4 separate regions of the Homo sapiens genome follow, and all the other regions are linked to region 1. Evidence: promoter capture Hi-C in 16 types of primary human blood cells and fetal thymus (Javierre and others, 2016). All regions are on one chromosome and are shown on one strand. Each heading gives the region's core, a stretch centred on a gene start or on the middle of the fragment in contact. The rest is flanking DNA. Distances are from core to core; before and after follow the strand shown. Region 1 holds the start of TP53INP2 (tumor protein p53 inducible nuclear protein 2). Region 2 overlaps DYNLRB1 (dynein light chain roadblock-type 1). Region 3 overlaps ITCH (itchy E3 ubiquitin protein ligase). Region 4 overlaps DYNLRB1 (dynein light chain roadblock-type 1).

Region 1 (5,092 bases), core at 1,377-3,876:
GGCTGGGGGCTGCTGGCCATACTCCCCCAGTACCTGAAGCCTGACTGACTCTCCACACCTGTTCCCTAAAGATGCTCAACGGTTTTGCTGCTGAGACACTTGTCACCATTCTCTAAGGGTGTTTCCACACTTCCTGTAGAACTTCCTGGGGGCATGTCCAGACTTCCCTGAAGGCATTTCTCCTCTTTCTGCTAATCCACCTGCAGTATTGCCATGCTTATTGCTACCTCCCCCATTCCCTAGAAATGTTTTCACACTTGCTGCAGAATCACCTCACTTCCATACCCTGAGAATATTTCCACATCTGCAGACTCACAGTAGGCTTAAGATGCTGGCTTCTCTGGTGGGATGGGGGTGGGAGATCTACAGGGATTAAGAAGGTGGGGCCACCCCCAACTAGTGTCCACCCAGCACAATTCATGTATCCCAACCCATATGTAGCCACAGGGAGCTAGTGACTCCATTACCAAAAGCCCAGAAAGTTTGGCCCCTCTTGAAGGAAGGGAATATCGAGGCCTTGATGAGGCACATCCTCCTTCCAAGAACCTACTAATTCATGGAATATGAAAGAGAAGTTAAGAGCTGTTTCAGGGACCATCATATTCACCCAGCCCATTTTAAAATCTGATGATCAGAAAGAAGACATAAATCTATCCAAAAATACATGGCTAGATAGTGGCAGGGCAGACCTAGTCCCACGTTACTGTGCATCCAGTCCAGAGTGTACACAGTCAGGAAAGACTCAGCAAACAATCCCCAAGAATACAATGATGCAGGGGTACAGGGAGGTGAAAAAGACCTTGACCTAGCCACACCACCCCTCGCCTAGCTACAAAAGGGTCTGGGGTTACTGGCACCAAGATTTAGCATGCATTTACTGAAGACCCACTGTGTACCAGAGCCTGCACTGTGCCTCCCCAAATTTCAGATAGGTTTAGGGGAGGGAGGCTCAGGGGAAAAGCTCCCTGCCTGAGGTCACACAGCAAGTCAGTGACAGCCAGGAGTGAAAGCAGTCACCAGCCAGCCAGTGCCTGCCCCCTCTCCTGACCACTTGGGGAGCCTCCCAGATTTCCTTTCCCAGCCCTGCCAGCTTCCTGGTTCTCACATTCCCAGTTCTGCTCCAGGGAGAACCATTCCCTTTAATAACTACAGCAGCTCTGCCCAGAATAGCATTTGTGCCCTAAGCCACCCCTACCCCCAGCCCATCCTTGAGCAAACTCCCAGCAGGAATGGAGTTCCTGGTTCAGCCTCTAGGCCCATCCACTTGTTAAGTCAGAAACTCTCCTTATCCTATCCCTTCTCCTATACTCTCTGTGGGCAGAGGTGACGAGGGAGCAGCAAAACACCTGCAATTGTCTGCACTAGGCCAGGTCAGGCCCTTCCTAGCTGACGACCTAGGAAGTTGGGAAGGTAAAGGGCCAATAGAGGGAACCCTCACCCCACCCTCCACCCCAACATCAGCCCTGGAGACACCCCGAGGCAGCCAATGACTCACCTCTCTGTGATCCAAACAGCTGGGAGGCAGCGATTTTATTGGACTCTAGGACTTCAAGGTACAGTGAGGACAGAAGGGGTCAGGACCACAAAAGGTGAACCAATCTCCAGAGATTCCCTGGAAAAGGGTCCAGGAGTAAGGACACCTAGGAGCCTATCAAACCGTGATAAGGCTGAGCCCAAGATCGGGTCCCCAGTGGAAGGAGGATGTGTATCTTACCACTTGTACTGAGCCCCTATTATGTCTTTGCCCCTGGCTAATAATCCATCTGTCACTCAGTGAGCATGACTCTAATTGGTTATGTGACCTCGAGAGAGCTAATCCTCCTCTCTGGGCCTGTTGCCCCTTCCATGCACTGGGGTCTAAGACCCTTCATTTTGGGTCTAGGAGTGACATCAGCTAAGGCGCTGCACACAAATCAGGGATTAGGAGGATGTTATTCTGTTAGTCCCTGGGGGCGGAGTCTGGAGCCGGAGGGAGGGGATCCCACCACCATCTGGTGCTGTCCCAACCACCTGGAGTCCCATGCAGCCCTGAACTCCTGACGACCCCCTCAACCTAGGCCCAGCAGCGCCGTCTGACTCCTTCTCAGGTTGCAAAGAGAAAGTAGGGGATCAGAGGCCTGACCCCAGCCCCTGGATAAGCCTAGGAAATCGCCGATCCCCCTGCAGCCCCCTTTGGATTGCAGCGTCTCACCCAGGGCCCAGCCCCGACACAGCGGCTACCGGGTCACGGGAGGACAAGCGACCCGAGCCTGTGGGGGCGGTACCGGCCTTGGTGACGTCTCAATGTCATATGCAAATAGAACGACGTCATGGTCTACCGGGCGTGCGGCAACCAATCGGGAGCCGGGAACGCGGCCCCGGCGGCCGCCGGCGGAGACAGACAAAGGCCCGGGCGCGGGGGGCGCAGGGCGTGTCCGTGGCAGGGGAGCCCCCAGGCCCACCCGGGTCGGGACTCACCTGGGGGCGGGAGGGGGGCGGCACGGCGTTGAGGTAGTTGTGCGGCGGGGCGTCCCAGGGTCGCCGGCCGCTCACAGGCCGGGCCGCATCGCCGGGACTCGCGGGGGAGGCGGCGGGGCCGCGGTCGCTCCGGGCTGCTGAGCTCGCCCGCGGGGCTTTGAGTCTGTGCGGCCGCTGCGGCGGGGCTCACGGCACAAATTGGAACGTTCAAACAGCTGATTGTGACGTCACAAAGGGGCCCGCCCGCCTCGCGTCACCGGCTGGCGGGGCGGCGGCCAATCCCGGGCTGCGGATCCCCCCCTGCCCCTCCCCTCCCCTCCCCTCCCGGTTTGCGGGCCGGGCGCTCGGGCCGGGAAACGTTCTCGGAACCGGGAGGGTGAGTGTTCGGGGAGGCAGCTGCGGGGAGCTGGGAGCCCTGCGCCGCGGCGAGCTCTCCGCGAGGAGGATCTCCACTCCCTCCTACCGGCTCCTTATTTTCCTGATTCTTCCCGGATCGCAGCGCCCTCACCTCTCCCACTGCTCCCCAAATCCTTTCACTGCATCCTATATCCAAGTCCCCCGATGCGGACCCTGTTCTCGACCCACACCACGTCCGTGCACCTGCATTCTCCCCACTGCCCTTATTCCTGCTCTCCCTCCCCCCTCTGGCTCACCTCCTCAGCCTTACACACTCTGCTTTCCCACCCCGTTTTTCCTCAGCTCGGCGGGCTTGAGAAAAGAGGGACATCCCCAACCCCCGGTTCCCGGGGAGCATCTGGGAATGTAGAGAAGTTAGTGAAGCTGACGTGAAATTTCGCAGAGTAGGACTTGGAGAGGAATTGCCCTGGGCTGAGTAAACATTGACCTGAGACGGCTCCGCGCTTGAACGTTTACATACCTTATTTAATCTATGTTGCTACCGGGGCTGTAAAGAAGTGGCAGGACAGGGACTGATTATGAGTCCTGATTTACACGTGGGAAAGCTGAGTCTCACAATCTCACTGTTAGCGTGTGAACTCATGTTCAACAATGCATTCAACATTTATTAGGCACCTACTATTGCACCACCATACCACTAGCTGACATGTATTGGCACACTTACTGTGTGCCACGACCTGTGCTATGGGTGTGTTTTTTTATCTTCACAACAACCCAAAAGGTAGATATTGTCCCGTTTAACAGTTGAGGAAACAGACTCAGAGAGCTCAAGTGACTTTCTTAGGTCACAAAAGTACAGTCAATGGCAGAGCCAGGATTTGAACCCATAGCTCCCAGCCCTGACCCTCTCCATTCTCTACATGAACCAGATGGTCTAAACCTCAGGGCGCTTTAGCCTCCCCAGAGTCCTGGCTTTCAGTCCTGACTGTGCCCTAGACTTGCTGTGTGACCTCAAGTCATGTTACCTCTCTGGGTCTCAGTTTGTCAAACAAACATATCCAGGCTTCCCTCTAGAGCTGCCATTGTAAGATTCTTCCACACTCTCTGCCCTCAGGATTCCACCCACCCCACGCTCTAGGCCCCAGCTCTCCCAGTGGCCTGGGAGATGCCCGAGAAGAGACCACAAATACACATATCAGAATCTCCAGGGCCAGAGGTTCTAGGTCAGCAGAGCAGGGCTGGTGGGGGAGGGTCCGAGAACTGCCCACCTAGCCCAAAAGGAGGCCGGAGGTGACCTAGGCCAGAGGTTAATGATCTAGTGATAAAACTTTTTTTTTTTTTTTGAGACGGAGTCTCGCTCTTGTTGCCCAGGCTGCAGTGCAGTGGCACGATCTCGGCTCACTGCAAGCTCCGCCTTCCGGGTTCACGCCATTCTCCTGCCTCAGCCTCCCGAGTAGCTGGGACTACAGGCGCCCGCTACCACGCCCGGCTAATTTTTTGTATTTTTTGTATTTTTGTATGTTTAGTGTTAGCCAGGATGGTCTCGGTCTCCTGACCTTGTGATCTGCCTGCCTCGGCCTCCCAAAGTGCTGGGATTACAGGCGTGAGCCACCGTGCCCGGCACTCTAGTGATAAAACTCTATCCCAGCCTCATCTGAAACCCCCAAGGGACTCCTTAACCCTAGCGACAGGGGAAGAAGCCAGAAAAAAATAACCCAAGGCTGAGGGGTGGAGAGGGGAGTGGCATTGTGGCCCTTGGAGTGTTATACCCAAAGTGTCCTCATTCCATGCAACTCTGAGCCTCTGCCCATCACAGCCACTTCCTGCTAACCTCATACCCTTTCAGACCTACTTGCTGACTTTAATTAAATAATCCCTAACACGTCTCTCCTGTCAAGCCACTTGTTTGTTCTAAAACCTGATGTGGCTCCTAAAGCCCCACACTCCTAACACAGAACTCATGCCCCCCATGCTCCGGCCCCAGTTCTCTCCAGCTTCACCTCCCCTTCTCCTACACGCATCTTGTGCTAAAGTCAAACTCCTTGTTGACTCTACAGCACTCTCCCACCTCCACCCTTTTGCTCAAGCTGTTTCCCCTGCCTGGAATGCCTTCTTCAGAACTTTCTGAAATCCAGATCTTTCCTGTCTTCAAGATTCTACTTGGCCAGGTGTGGTGGCTCACAGCCATAATCCCAGCACTTTGGGAGGCCAAGGCAGGAGGATTGCTTGGGGCCAGGAGTTTGAGACCAGCCTGGCCAATATAGCGAGACCACTTATC
Region 2 (4,856 bases), core at 41-2,540, 180 kb after region 1:
TTCTCGGCCATAAGTATGTCATCTTTAAGCCAAGAATCAAATGATGAGAAAGAAATGCACTCTGGGCAATGGGATGATGGAGACAAGGTTCCCCAATTCTCTAGTTCCCAGATGCACATTCCTGACACATGGAAAAACAAGCAGCAATAAAGATCCAGGAGGATCCATTGGCTCAGCATAGGAGGGATGACCACTGGAAGCAAATGACTGACAAAGAACTATGACCAATTTGACCACTAAACATAAAACTTCTGTATAAGAATAACTAATCTAACAGGATAGAAAAGTATTTGCATCAAATATAACAGACAAAATAAATAAAAAAAAAACACAAAATGACTAAGAACAATAGCAAGTCTCTAGTAGGTAGTGCACAAAAGAATACTAGTAGAAAATATGCCTACGAGAAATTACAATCACATCAAACCATGGTCATCATCCCTCACAAACAAATGAAAAATTCAGCTGGGCGTGGTGCTCACACCTGTAATCTCAGCACTTTGGGAAACTGAGGTGGGTGAATCACTTGAGGTCAGGAGTTTGAGACCAGCCTGGCCAACATGGGGAAACCCTGTCTCTACTAAAAATACAAAAATTAGCCGTCATGGTGGCATGGGCCTGTAATCCCAGCTACTCAGGAGGCTGAGGCAGGAAAATTGCTTGAACCTGGGAGGCAGAGTTTGTAGTGAGCTGAGATCGTGCCCTCCAGCCTGGGCAACAGAGTGAGATTCCATTTCAAAAAAAAAAGACAGAAATGAAAAATTATAGCAATGCTGAGGTTTATTTTTAAATGCTGGCATTGTTATTACAAAACTGGCAGGTGCAAGGGCAATACAATCTTGACAAAGCTACAGGACAATATATTGCAAGAACCATAAAAGCACTGGTCCTTCCACCTCAGAAATTATTTTCCTAAGAATTTTATCCTGAGGAAATAATCTAATAAGTAAGTTAAAATGAAACAAAACAAGATATTCACAGAAGCATCATCACAGCACTATTTCTACTAATTAAGAAATGGAAGCAGCCAGGTATGGTGGCTCATGCCTGTAATCCTGGCACTTTGGGAGGCTGAGGCAGGCGGATCACCTGAGGTCAGGAGTTTGAGACCAGCCTGGCCAACATGGCGAAACCCTGTTTCTACTAAAAAATACAAAAATTAGCTGGGCGTCATGATGCACACCTGTTAATCCCAGCTACTCAGGAGGCTGAGGCAGGAAAATCACTTGAACCTGGGAGGCAGAGGTTGCAGTGAGCTGAGATTGAGCCACTGAACTCCAGTCTGGGCAACAGAGTGAGACTCCATCTCTAAAACAAACAAACCAAAAAGAAATGGGAGCAACCCAAATGTACACAGGTAAGATATTTGGCCAATTATGGTACAACTATTTCACCGAGTATTATGTAGTCACTAAGTAGTTAATCACAAAGATGATATGACAACAAGGTTAAATGTTTTTGGATATTAAAACAACAAAAAAAGAAAAAAATCCCCCCAAAACTCAGCATGCATTATCTTGGAAAATATGCATATGTGAACAAAAGAGGAAGGAGAACATACAAAGATGAAAATAGTTATGTGGCACAGTGAAACTGGACGAGGAGAATTATATGTGATTATTTTTTAATTTTATTTATTTATTTTGAGACAGAGTCTTGCTCTGTTGCCCAGGCTGGAGTGCACTGGCCTGGTCTCGGATCACTGCAACCCCCGCCTCCCGGGTTCAAGCGATTCTAGTGCCTCAGCCTCCTGAGCAGCTGGAATTACAGATGCACGGCTTCCGGCTACTTTTCGTATTTTTAGTAGAGACAGAGTTTCACCATGTTGCCCAGGCTGGTCTCCAACTCCTGACCTCAAGTGATCTGCCCACCTTGGCCTCCCAAAGTGCTGGGATTATATGCGTCAGCCATTGTGTCCGGCCAATTATAGATGATTTTTATATCATTATTCTAAAGGTCAGTTTCCACCTAAAATGTAAAATATGCAAGCCAAAAGTGCCACTTGTAGAAATCTATCCTACATAACCACTAGCATGAGTGCAAAAAAGACAAGAACAGTTACTGCAGCAGTGTCTGGAATAAAAAAACTATACACCACCTAAATGTACATATGGGACTAGGATACGATACAGACCTTAAAAAGAATGAAGTGGACCTGCATATAATAACACAGAAAAATGTGTGATATTTTTAAGTGAACAGAACAAGTTGCAGAATAAGATATATACATATATATCTTAAAGTCAACTTCTGTTTTCTCTTATTTTTTTCTCACCCAGGGTGGAGTGCAGTGGTGCAGTCACGGCTCACTGTAGCCTTGACCTCCTGGGCTCAGGCGATCTCTCCACTTCAGCCTTAAAGTAAAGTTAACATATACAAATATATATATATTCCAGTTTCATCTAATAAACAGCTTATACATAAATGTGCTTATGCACCAAACACATCTGGAAGGAAACACACCCAACTGCCAACAGAAGTTGCCACGGGGTAGTAAGATGGGGACCACATAAACTTTCTATATTATATCCTCTGGTACTGCTTCAAATTGTTAACATACATGGTGGTTTACGCCCATAATCCCAGCATTTTTGGAGGCGGAGGTGGGCGGATCACCTGAGGTCATGAGTTTGAGACCAGCCTGGTCAACATGGTGAAACCCTGTCTCTACTAAAAATAGAAAAAAAACCCTGTCTCTACCAAAAATAGAAAAATTAGCCAGGCATGGTGGCATGCTCCTGCAGTCCCAGCTACTCCGGAGGCTGAGGCAGGAGAATCACTCGAACCCGGGAGGCAGAGGTTGCAGTGAGCTCAGATCACACCACTGCACTCCAGCCTGGGCGAAAGGGCAAGACTCTGTTTCAAAAGAAAAAAAAAAAAAGTTAAACTAGGCATCTAAATTTGCATTGCTTTTATGAGTATAACCACGGAGTAGCATAATACAGGTTCTAGAAAGCTACAGTTTAAGTAAGAAAAAGGGGGGCCATATAAGTGCTTGTATAGATGCATAAGAAACTAACAGCTGGGTGTGGTGGCTCACGCCTGTAATCCTAACACTTTGGGAGGCCAACGTGGGTGAATCACTTGAGCCCAGGAGTTCAAGACCAGCCTGGGCAACATGGCAAAACCCCAACTCTACAAAAAAAAAATACAAAAAAATTAGCAGGGTGTGGTGGCGTGCACCAGTAGTCCCAGATACTTGGGGAATTAAGGCAGGAGGATCACTTGAGCCCAGGAGGGTCAAGTTTGCAAGAAAAAAAAAAAAAGAAACTAACAATGGTTGTTTCTAAAGGAGGAGAGACTGAGACTGGGGGTTAGGAGAGTGGGAATTTTATTTTTCACTTAGATCCTTTTACATCATTTATTTTTTTACTGTGTGCAAGTATTACCTGTAAACAATCCTAAAATTCGTATGGAACCACAAAAGACTCAGAAAAGCCAAAAGAAGCCTGGACGAAAAGAACAAAGCTTGAGGTATCACACTACCTGATTTCAAAATATACCAGAAAGGTATAGTAACCAAAAGAGCATGGTATTGGTATAAAACACAGACCAATGGAATAGAATAGAGGACCCAGAAATAAATCCACTTATTTACGGCCAACTGATTTTCGACAAAGGCATCGAAAAAACAAAACAAAACAAAAACAACAACAAAAACGAAAAAAAAAACCTACCATAAATCAGCAATACCACTACTGGGTATTTATTCAAAGGAACGGAAATTAGTACATCAAAGGCATCCCTACATCCTCATGTTCATATTGCAGCACTATTCATAATAGCTAAATTATGGAATTAGCGTCCATCAATAGGTAAATGGATAAAGAAAATGTGGGCCAGGCGTGGTGGCTCACGCCTGTAATCCCAGCACTTTGGGAGGCTGAGGCGAGCAGATCACGAGGTCAGGAGATCGAGACCACCGTGTTGAGGCGGACTAACACGGTGAAACCCCGTCTCTACTAAAAATACAAAAAATTAGCTGGGCGTGGTGGTGGGCGCCTGTAGTCCCAGCTACTCGGGAGGCTGAGGCGGGAGAATCACTTGAACCTGGGAGGCGGAGGTGGCAGTGAACTAAGATGGTGCCACTGCACTCCAGCCTGAGCGACAGAGACACACTCCATCTCAAAAAAAAAAAAAAAAAAAGAAATAATGAATGTTTAAGGTGATGGATATTCTATAATAAATATAGCCTGATTTGATCATTACACATCATATGCATGTATCAAAATATTACATGTATATCTACAACATAAATGTGTACAACTATTATATATCAATTTTTTTTACAGCTTAAGAAGTGATGTGAAAAATGAAGTTATACATATTTGAAGCATTATTACATGTTTGTAATGATGTGGAGATATTGTGGTGTAATAATGAAAAACACAGAACCCACAATTGCACATTCAATAGGGGCTAAACTGTATAAACCAAAAACAAGCAAAAAAGACTAGAAGTCATATGACTACTGTAAGTGGTTGCCTCTAGGTGATGACACGGTTTCTTTTTTCAATTTTTTTATTACAAGCTCTAGATTTCTAAATAAGATTTTTGAAAAAGTAATATATTCACATGGCTTAAAATTTGAAACTTTTTCAAATTTTGCCCAAGCTGTGAGGATTACAAACACAAAACCTGTAACGGCGTTGAGAACCCACAGCTGCAGCAAGCAAGGTAGAAAGCAAGCTTTGGGATCCCCAAGAGCAGACCCCGCCCGTTCCTGACTCTGGCACCCAGTCCCAGCGGCTAGAAAGAACCACGCCGACAGAGTGGCGGCCGTCAAGCTTCTAGGGTTCAAATCCATCTCCACTATTTCCTGGGGCAAAGCACTTGGCTTCTCGGGGCGCTGAATA
Region 3 (4,888 bases), core at 1,188-3,687, 200 kb after region 1:
GTATAAACATAAAATACTTGCCCCTCATTTACCTGCTGCTGGAGATAGCTGTGAAAAGTGATCATAAAAACACCAGTTTTTTAAAAGATCATTACTTTTCCCTAGGAAGCATTTATTGTTGGTCTCAATGACTGGTAATGCTACTAGATATTTTAATTAGAAGGGGGCAGGAACGCTAACTGTTCTGTAATGTGTGACACTGTCAGACACAAAGAACTTTCTCATGTCCCACCTGACTAAACCCTGTATACTAAGTATACCCAATATAAATTGTTAGTGCTTTTGTATTTAATAACACTGAATTGTTTTCACAAGTAGTTATGTAAAAAGTCCAGTAATATAGGAAACGTTATAAAAAAACACAGTTAAAATTATTCTGTGGTGTTCAACACATAAATTAAAATTAACTCACTCTGCATGTTCTCTCTACTCAATATATATATTTTTTGAGACAGAGTCTCACTCTGTCACCCTGGCTGGATGGCAGTGGCACAATCTTGGCTCAATGCAACCTCCGCCTCCTGGGTTCAAGCAATTCTCATGCCTTAGAGTAGCTGTGATTACAGATGTGCACCACCACACCCAACTAATTTTTGTATTTTTAGTAAAGATGGGGTTTTACCATGTTGGCCAGGCTGGTCTTGAACTCCTGGCCTCAAGTGATCAACCCACCTTGGCCTCCCAAAGTGTTGGGATTACAGGCATGAGCCATCATGTCCACCCTCTACTCAATATTTTATAGCATTTTCTTTTTTTTTTTGAGGCGGAGTCTCCCAGGCTGGAGTGCAGTGGAGCAATCTTGGCTCACCACAACCTCCGCCTCCCAGGTTCAAGTGATTCTCCTGCCTCAGCCTCCCGAGTAGCTGGGATTACAGGTGCCCACTACCACACCCGGCTAATTTTGTATTTTTAGTAGAGATGGGGTTTCACTATGTTGGCCAGGCTGGTCTTGAACTCCTGACCTCAAGTGACCCAACCGTCTCGGCCTCCCAAAGTGCTGGGATTACAGGTGTGAGTCACTGTACCTGGTCACATTTCATTTTTTATAAATTTTTTTTTTTTTTAAGACACAGGGTATCACTATGTTGCCCATGCTTAAGTGCAGTGGCTGTTCACAGAAGCAGTTATAGTGCACTACAGGCTTGAAATCTTGGGCTCCAGCAATTCTCCTGCCTCAGCCTCCAAATAACTGGGACTACAGATGTGTGCCCACCATACCTAGCAGCATATTTAACTACATAGATGGAAAGGAGTTTCATTTAATAATGCACATTAGTATGTAACAGAAAGGATTCTGAATTGCTTTTAATAGATTTAAAATCAAATATTAAAAACTCTGACACTGTCCCTAAACCATACAACTTCTGTGTAGACTTTTGTACCTATGTTCCTATTTTCAGCCACCTTTCAAATGTTATGGTCTCCGAGGCTTTTTTACATGTTAGAGCCTTGGCCTATAGTAGAATTTCATGACAGGAGATATATTCTGATACTATGCTTTTAAGATCTACCTCATTTTTCTCCACCTTGACCATCTATAATTTATTTTTGCAGGTGTATTATTCATACTTTATTTAGGTTACTTCCCTCCTTTTGTTATCACATATACTTAAGTCTATTATTTATCTTTCTCATCTGTTCTTTTATTTTCCAGTACTACTTGTCTTTTTTTTTTTTTTTTTGAGAGATGGAGTTTCGCTCTTGTTGCCCAGGCTGGAGTGCAATGGTACGATCTTGGCTCACTGCAACCTCTGCCTCCCAGGTTCAAGCGATTCTCCTGCCTCAGCCTCCTGAGTAGCTGGGATTACAGGCATGTGCCACCACGCCTGGCTAATTTTGTATTTTCAGTAGAGATACGGTTTCTCCATGTTGGTCAGGCTGGTCTCGAACTCCCAACCTCAGGTGATCCGCCCGCCTCAGCCTCCCAAAGTGCTGGGATTACAGGCGTGAGCCACCGCACTCAGCCCTTCCAGTACTTCTTATAGAGAATGGCTTTTGATCTTGTCTTAAACCTTTTCTTATAAGTAGGAACAAATATTTGACTTCTTAGGTATATCTTCTAACATAGTTGTCCCCAAATAGACATGTATTAAAACACATATTATTTCATTATAAATTACCTAAAAAATTTAATCCCTTATATTACAGTTAAGGCTATGTATAAGTATTTTCTAGGGATTGTCAATAGGTTATTTCATCCATAAATCAGTGTATTAAAGGGGATATTATGAATATATATTAATAAAAGTGGGATGTTGGATCCATCCCCAAGGTCAAGAAGCATCCCATTAAAGAATTACATACACCACCTCTAAAACTTTCTCTTCCTGTGCTGGGTGGAAGTTTAAACTAGATGGCTGCCTCTGCAGAAACCTTACAGACCAGGAGAGAATGAGATAATATTCAAAGTACTGCAAGAAAAAAATTGGCAGCCAAGATTACTATACCCAGCAAAACCATCCTTCAGACATACAGGAGAAATACAGTATTTCCCAGACATGGGGAAATAGAAGGAATTCATCACCTTATGAAAAATGCTCAACGGACTCCCACATCTGGAAGTGAAAAGATGATAATCACTCTCATGAAAATACACAAAAAGTATTAATATAACACTCTGGTAGAGCAGATACACTAAGGGAAAAAAGAACCAAACCTTAGCACTATAGAAAACCACAAAAACCATAATGATAAACAATGAGAGAAAGAAAGGAACGACGGATATATAAAGCAACCAGAAAGTAATTTTAAAAATGACAGGAGTAAGTCCTGATCTATCAGTAATAACCTTGAATATAAGTGGATAAATTCCCTACTAAAAAGATATAGACTGGCTGAATAGATTTAAAAAGAAAAATGACCCAACTATCATATGCTGCCTCCAAGAAACTTGCTTTACCCGTAAAGACACATACAGACTGAAAAGGAAGGGATGAAAAAGATATTTCATGGAAATGGAAATCCAAAGTGAGCAGGAGTAGCTATACATATATCAGGCAAACAGACTTTAAATCAAAAACTATAAAAAGAGACAAAGGGCATTCTATAATGATAAAGGGACCAATTCAACAAGAGGATATGAGAGTTATATATGCACCCAACACCAAAGAACCCAGATATAAAAAGGAAATATTATTATATTAAAAGGGAAAGACAGACTCCAATACTAGTTGGGGACTTCAATATCCACTCTTAGCACTGGATAGATCATCTAGACAGAAAATCAACAAAGAAACATTGGATTTAAACTGTACTTCAGACCAAATGAACCTAACAGTCATTCATAGAACATTTCATCCAACAGCTTCAGAATACACATTCTTGTCATCAGCACATGGAACATTCTCCTGGGGAAACCACATATTAAGACCCAAAACAAGTCTCAACAAATTTAAAAGAACTGAAGTCATAATGTCAAATATATTTTCTGAACACAATGGAGTAAGACTAGAAATCAATAAAAAGAGGAACTTTCAAAATTGTATAAATACATGGTAATTAAACGTGCTCCAGAATGACCAATGGGGAAATGTAAAAGGAAATTTAAAAATTCCATGAAACAAATGCAAATGGAAACACAATATATTGAAAATTATAAAATATAGCAAAACCAATATTAAAAGGTAATGTTATAGCAATAAATGCCTACATCAAAAAAGTGGAAAGATTTTAAACAAATGACCTAATGATACACTTTGAGAAACCAGAAAAGAACAAAGCAAACCCAAAATTACTAGAAGGAAAGAAATAATAAAGATCAAAACAGAAATAAACAAAAATGAGGCTAAAAATGAAGACAAAAGATAGATGAAATGAAAAGTTGTTTTTTTTTTCTGAAAGGATAAACAAAATTGACAAACCATTAGCTAAACTAACCAAGAAAAGACCCAAATAAATGAAATCAGAAACGAAAAGGGAGACATTACAACTGACACCACAGAAATACAAAGGACCTTTAGAAATTATTATGAACTACACACCAACTTAGAAAACCTATGGAAATTGATACATTCCTGGACACATACAACCTACCAAGACTGAACCAAGAAAAAGCAGAAAAGCTGAAAAGATCAATTATAAGTAACATGACTGAATCTGTAATAAAAAGTCTCCCATTTGCACTCCAGCCTGGGTGTCAGAGCAAGACTGTCTCAAAAAAAAAAAAAAAAAAAAAAAAAAAAAAAAAAGCTGGGCACAGTGGCTCACGCCTGTAATCCCAGCACTTTGGGAGTCCAAGGCGGGCGGATCACAAGGTCAGGACATCGAGACCATCCTGGCTAACGCGGTGAAACCCCGTCTCTACTAAAAAGACAAAAAATTAGCCGAGCATGGTGGCAGGCGCCTGTAGTCCCAGTTACTCGGGAGGCTGAGGCAGGAGAATGGTGTGAACCTGTGAGGCGGAGGTTGCAGTGAGCCGAGATCGTGCCACTGCGTTCCAGCCTGGGTGAAAGAGCAAGACTCTGTCTCAAGAAAAAAAAAAAAAGTCTCCCATCAAAGAAAACAAAAGTCTAGGAACCAATGGAATTCTAACAAACATTTAAAGAAGAACTAATACCAATTCTTTTCAAGCTCTTCCAGAAAATAGAAGAGAGAATTTTTTGAAACTCATTCTACAAGGCCAGCGTTACCCTGATACCAAAACTAGACAAGGATACAAGAAACAAAAACAAAAAAAAAGGAGGAAAAGAAAAGAAAAGAAAACTATAGGCCAATATCCTTGATGAACACAGATGCAAAAATCCTCAATGAAATACAAGCAAATCAAATTCAGCAACACATTAAAAAGATCCAAAGGTTGCAAGGATGGTTCAACATATACAAATCAATGAACATAACAAAGTATATCAACAGAATGATGGGCTAAACCATATGATCTTCTCAATAGATG
Region 4 (5,133 bases), core at 113-2,612, 170 kb after region 1:
ACTCTGAGAACACGGAGCCTCAGAGAGTTAAAGGGCTTGCCCAATCCAGGGTAAATCCACAGGTGGAGTGGGGACAGGGACCTGGGTTTGACCCCATACTCTGAACTGCCCTGGTCTGCTGCCCCCTGCTGAGCATGAGCGAAATGGCAGGACCTCAGCCAAGTCACTTTGTGGCTGTTCAGAGCCAAGCCTAAAGCTTGGTTCTTCCCACGAAGATGGGCTGTTGCAACAGGGAAGAAACAGAAATGAAGTGACTAACAGTTTCATGGCTAACCAATCTGCATACATAAAAATCACTAATGAAAACAGAAATAATTAACAAGCCACTGATAAAAATAGGCACAATCGGTAACATCAGTGTCTTTTACTCCAAATCATCAAGCCCTAAATGCAACAATACCACTTCAGGTGCTTTGTGAGAGGTAGTGTGTGTTGAAGGTTGTGTAGGCTGAGTTAGTTACCTCAGCTTTAATACTAGTGAAGTTAATAAGTGAAAACTAGAAGTCTGTTTTTTTTGTTTTGTTTTTTGAGACTGGGTCTCGCTGTTGCCCAGGCTGGAGTGCAGTGGCGTGATCATGGCTCACTGCAGCCTCAACTGCCCAGGCTCAAGCGATCCTCCTGCCTCAGCCTCCCGAGTAGCTGGGAATACTGGTGCCACCATGTCCAGCTAACAAAAGTTTGTGTTAAAATGTCTTGGCCGGGCATGGTGGCTCACGCATATAATCCCAGCACTTTGGGAGGCTGAGGTGGGAGAATCGCTTGAGCCTAGGAGTTTGACACCAGCCTGGGCAACATAGTGAAACCCTGTCTCTACCAAAAAAAAAAAAAAAAAAAAAAATGCTGGGTGTGGCGACACATGCCTGTGGTCCCAGCAGTATACTAGGGAGGCTGAGGCTGCAGAGAGCCATGATCGCACCACTGCACTCCAGCCTGGGCAACAGAGCTAGACCCTGTCTCAAAAAAAAAAAAAAAAAAAAGCCTGTTCACGTGGGCGGTTCTGGGCCAGGGTGGGGTGAATGTGGCACACATGTGGAGAGCCACACTGTCTGGAACACCTGCTGCTGTCTGCAGCCTGGGAAGCAGTACCTCAGCTGGATGGGGTCAGGTCAGGCAGGTGGGAAGGCATGGATCTCCCTCCCGGGCCAGGCTGCTCCAGGCTGCCCACGATGTGTAGGGTGCTAACTACAGTCTCAAACGGGCACTTCCAGCAGCAGCCAGGCCTGCTCTACGCCTGTGGCCACCCCTGGGTCCTGTGTTCTGTAGCCATCCTGAGGCAATTCAGCGCCAGGGCCTCCTAGGCTCTGCGTGGTGGCTCCTGACCACAGGAGTTCTGGCACCAAAACCCAATTATTTTTTCTTGGCCACATAAAAGTGGGTATGTCAAAGTGTCAAATCACTGGTTTTCATCCTAAAACTATGCCCCACAGACATCCCTGACCCCGTCCCCACTGCTGACCCCACTTCTGACCCATATCAGTGGGGTGTCAGCAGTGGAGGGAGGTTTACAGAGTCATTCATTTATTTAATCAATGGATATTTGCTAGATGCTTACTATGTGCTTACAAGCCCCTGCCCTCATAGAACTTACTCTCAAGTGGAGTAGATGGCCTTAAAAATGCAGGTAAGCATTTGGTGACGAGGAAGGACTTGAGTGGCAGCAGTGAGGCTGAGCCAAAGAAGCATGCTCTGTAAGACAAGCTCAGCGCGCCACCGTCCTCCAGCACAGCGCCGCATGTGTGTGGGAGAGAGACAGTGTGACTTGAGAGCACGGGCGCCCCCTGCAGTGCTGCCAAGGTGAGGGACTGGCCACCTCATCCTCCTCCACTGACAAGGTTGTGGGATCTCCAGGCCTGTGAACCCCAAGGAGAACCCCCTACTTGGGAGCTGCCCATTCTGGACTCAAGCACCAACCACAGTCATGGGCTCTGAATGCCTGTGGGTCTTCAGGGCCAAATTGGAGACGCTGCCGCTGCCAAGTTGAGACCTGAATGGCCAGGAGCTTTCAGATGACACTGTCCTTCCAGAGGAGACATTCTCAGGAGCTTTATGCCAAGGGACACTGTCTGTGGAGAATTTGTCTGATTTGGAGACCAAGTAATTTGCTCCCTTCCCCCATACCCTGAACTCCCAGTGGGCCACTGGGGAGCACAAGGTCTGCTGTGCACAGGGTGAGCAGGGGGACTGTTCCCGGCCCAACTTTTTTTTTTTTTTTTTTTTTGAGACAGAGTCTCACTCTGTTTCCCAGGCTGGAGTGCAGTGGCGCGATCTCAGCTCACTGCAAGCTCCGCCTCCTGGGTTCAAGTGATTCTCCTGCCTCAGCGTCCCAAGTACCTGGGATTACAGGTGTGCGCCACCATGCCCAGCTAATTTTTTTATTTTTAGTAGAGACGGGGTTTCACCATGTTGGTCAGGCTGGTCTTGAACTCCTGACCTTGTGATCCGCCTGCCTTGGCCTCCCAAAGTGCTGGGATTACAGGCGTGAGCCACTGCGCTCCATCCCGGCCCGACTTTTGGGGAGTGAAGCTTTGTCCTCTGCAGTCACACAACATGACAACCTGGGAGGAACTGCAGTTTAAATCTGATTCCAAGGCTTTTTCCCCCAACCCAGGTCAACACACTCAACCAGGCAGGGTGGCTCAGGACATCAGCACAGCACAGTCCCCTACTCGACACTTTACAGATGTGGATTTGCAGGTGTTCTGCGACTTGCCCAGGGTCATGCTTGTGGGAAGCAAAGCTGGGAAAACAGATTCTGTGCCTCCTGCAGTCTTTTCTCCCCGATGGATCAGGCATTACACACAGAAGCGTGATTTTGGAATAATAGACTCTGGAGTTATTCTTATGTTCTTCTCTGTGACTGAACTGCTCTGTCCCCACCCCTCTAGGGAGTGTCCCAGGGAGCCTGTGGGCTGCTGTGACTGGCTCTATAGTTCTTTCCTGCCCATCCTTCCAGGCCTGGTGACAGAACCTATGCTGGTCTGCTGCAGGGAGTGGCTGACCTCCCATCAAATTACCTCAGAACTCTGTGGCCAGCCTCCTTGCCCTCTGTGTTGCCAGTCCAGAGCATTCAGTGTCCCCAGACCCCCCACTGCCTTCCTTTATCCAGGTCCTAATCATAATCCTATCACCTCCTGCCCTAAAAACCTCTGCTTGCAAGATCAAGTCCATGCAACTGAGTTAGGTGTTTGTGGCCCCTTCTAAACTGGACCAAAGCCTCACCTCCCACTCCTCCCCACTCACATCCTGATGCCCTAGATAAGCGGCACTGCAGCGGGAGTGCACCATCACGCGCATACGTGACGCACGCACACTCAACTATGTGGCTCAGCCAAGAAAAAGCAGAGTGAGAAAAAAGTAATAATGCAAAGACGGCCCTGGAGGCTCTGCCTGCCACCCCAGTCCATGAGTGAGAGCGAGGGAGCCGGGCAGGAGATGTGGCTCTGTTGCTCGCTCCTGTGCTCCCATCCTTGTGGGCTCCTCCCAGAATGAGCATCTCCTCACCCTGAGAATGATCCTAAGGACTAAACACAGGCCTTGGTTGCACCACAGAGCCCCCAAATGCAAGGCAAGCACCTCGCGTAAAGGAAACAAAGCAATCTGCTCCCGTGCGGCAGGAAAAGCTGGCTGTAAGGGGCCTAAAGACAGGCCTGGCCTTTACAAGTGGGCAGAGAACATGTTTTCAAGGATAAAATGATACAGTACTTTTGCTTTACATTTTGGAGAAGAATCACTGAATATTCTTCCAAACGTGGCTTTCCGCCCCTCCGCCTTGCTCACACTGCTTCCTGGTGCCCTTAAGATTCAGCTCCAGTGTCCCCTCTTCTGGGAAGCTTTTGCAGACAGCCCCAGACAGGCCTGGCCACACCCTCCTCTATGTCCCAAATGCCTTTGAGTTTTCTCCTATCAAGGAAGGGGAGACACACATGATGCTCACGTGTCTGTCTATCTCAGGAGACTGGGGTTACCCTCTGGGGCCGGTCCCTGGGAGGATCTGCTATGGGACACCAGCTGGAGGCTGGCTAGGCAGTGAGGCAACAACCCAATTCCTTCAACTCCTCGGGCCCTGCTTGGATCCTCTGGAGACACCACTGTGCCAGGACTCCTGATGAGCCACAGAGAATGTGCCATGAGGTCTGTTCCTACATGGGGAGGTAGAAGACCCCTTACCTGGTGCAACCATAATTTCATTTTTCTTGGAGCGAATTCGAAGGAAGGTGAGATCGTTCTGGGGGTCGATGTCACGCACGGTGCTCCGTGCCTTCAGGATGAAGCTGTGCATGAGGCTGGCATACTGGGTGGTGGTGGGGTTGTCCATGGTGCTCTTGATGGGAATGCCTGAGGGGAGAGCAGACGGAGACTGAGAGGATGTGGAGCCCCTTCTGCCGAGCTCCCACCCACACCCCTAATTGGGGAGAACTGGAATAGCAGTTCTCAGTCAATGCCACCATCCGCAGAGGGCTTGCTATGTGACAGGCATGGTGCTGAGCACCCGAAGCATGCCAGTGCCATGCCCTAGAACTACTCTGTGGGTGGCAACACCATCTCATTCGCCCATGAGGCAACAGGAGCTCTGAGTGATGAGGCGACCTGTCTGTAGTCACACAGTGGGGCCAGGATTCACATGCAGGCCTGCTGGCTCACTCCTGGGTTCCTTTCCCAGGGCTGATTGGTTCCCAGCAGTAAAAGGAGAGACTAGCTCTGATTCATGCAGGGACACAGATTTAAAAAACTAACAAAATCAGGTTTTTATTTTTTTGTCCAAAAAAAGAGAGACTCTCATTCATAGTGCTTAGAATTGAAACCAGGAAGCGCTTTTACAAATTTCTTTTTTTTGAGACGGAGTCTTGCTCTGTTGCCCAGGCTGGAGTGCAGTGGCTCACTGCAACCTCTGCCTCCCGGGTTCAAGTGATTCTCCTGCCTCAGTTTCCCAAGTATCTGGGATTACAGGCGCGTGCCACAGCACCCAGCTAGCTAATTTTTGTATTTTTAGTAGAGACAAGGTTTCACCATGTTTGCCAGGCTGGTCTTGAACTCCTGACCTCAGGTGATCCGCCCACCTCGGCCTCCCAAAGTGCTGGGATTACAGACGTGAGCCATCGCACCCTGCCTTACAAACTTCTTTTATTTATTTTA

Evidence for each region. The method cuts DNA at HindIII sites, captures the fragments that hold promoters and counts their contacts. A CHiCAGO score of 5 or more calls a contact.
Region 2: a fragment that was not itself captured here is called in contact with the fragment with the promoter of TP53INP2 in region 1 in 2 of 17 cell types (neutrophils and naive B cells); the score reaches 8.6 in neutrophils.
Region 3: a fragment that was not itself captured here is called in contact with the fragment with the promoter of TP53INP2 in region 1 in 1 of 17 cell types (neutrophils); the score reaches 6.4 in neutrophils.
Region 4: a fragment that was not itself captured here is called in contact with the fragment with the promoter of TP53INP2 in region 1 in 17 of 17 cell types (megakaryocytes, neutrophils, naive CD4 T cells and 14 more); the score reaches 21.2 in megakaryocytes.

What each region holds. Positions count from the first base shown.
Region 1 is chr20:34,701,878-34,706,969 of GRCh38, reverse strand. TP53INP2 (tumor protein p53 inducible nuclear protein 2) reads right to left here and starts at 2,626. Exons shown (of 5, transcript NM_021202.3): 1 at 2,458-2,626; 2 at 1,496-1,612. LOC105372599 (a long non-coding RNA gene) reads left to right here and starts at 2,788. Exons shown (of 2, transcript XR_936690.3): 1 at 2,788-2,833; 2 at 3,157-3,311. RefSeq lists a silencer at 2,351-2,830. The HindIII fragment of the contact is 9,202 bases long and covers 1-5,092 here.
Region 2 is chr20:34,516,918-34,521,773 of GRCh38, reverse strand. All of the region lies in intron 1 of DYNLRB1 (dynein light chain roadblock-type 1), which reads right to left. Among named protein-coding and RNA genes, the nearest start is that of DYNLRB1, 2.9 kb to the right of the region's middle. RefSeq lists enhancers at 4,821-4,856, 4,667-4,856. The HindIII fragment of the contact is 4,361 bases long and covers 1-3,470 here.
Region 3 is chr20:34,498,572-34,503,459 of GRCh38, reverse strand. All of the region lies in intron 23 of ITCH (itchy E3 ubiquitin protein ligase), which reads right to left. Among named protein-coding and RNA genes, the nearest start is that of DYNLRB1, 15 kb to the left of the region's middle. The HindIII fragment of the contact is 5,199 bases long and covers 1-4,888 here.
Region 4 is chr20:34,533,830-34,538,962 of GRCh38, reverse strand. DYNLRB1 (dynein light chain roadblock-type 1) reads right to left here. Exons shown (of 4, transcript NM_014183.4): 3 at 4,168-4,335. Among named protein-coding and RNA genes, the nearest start is that of DYNLRB1, 20 kb to the right of the region's middle. RefSeq lists a silencer at 106-215. The HindIII fragment of the contact is 2,327 bases long and covers 199-2,525 here.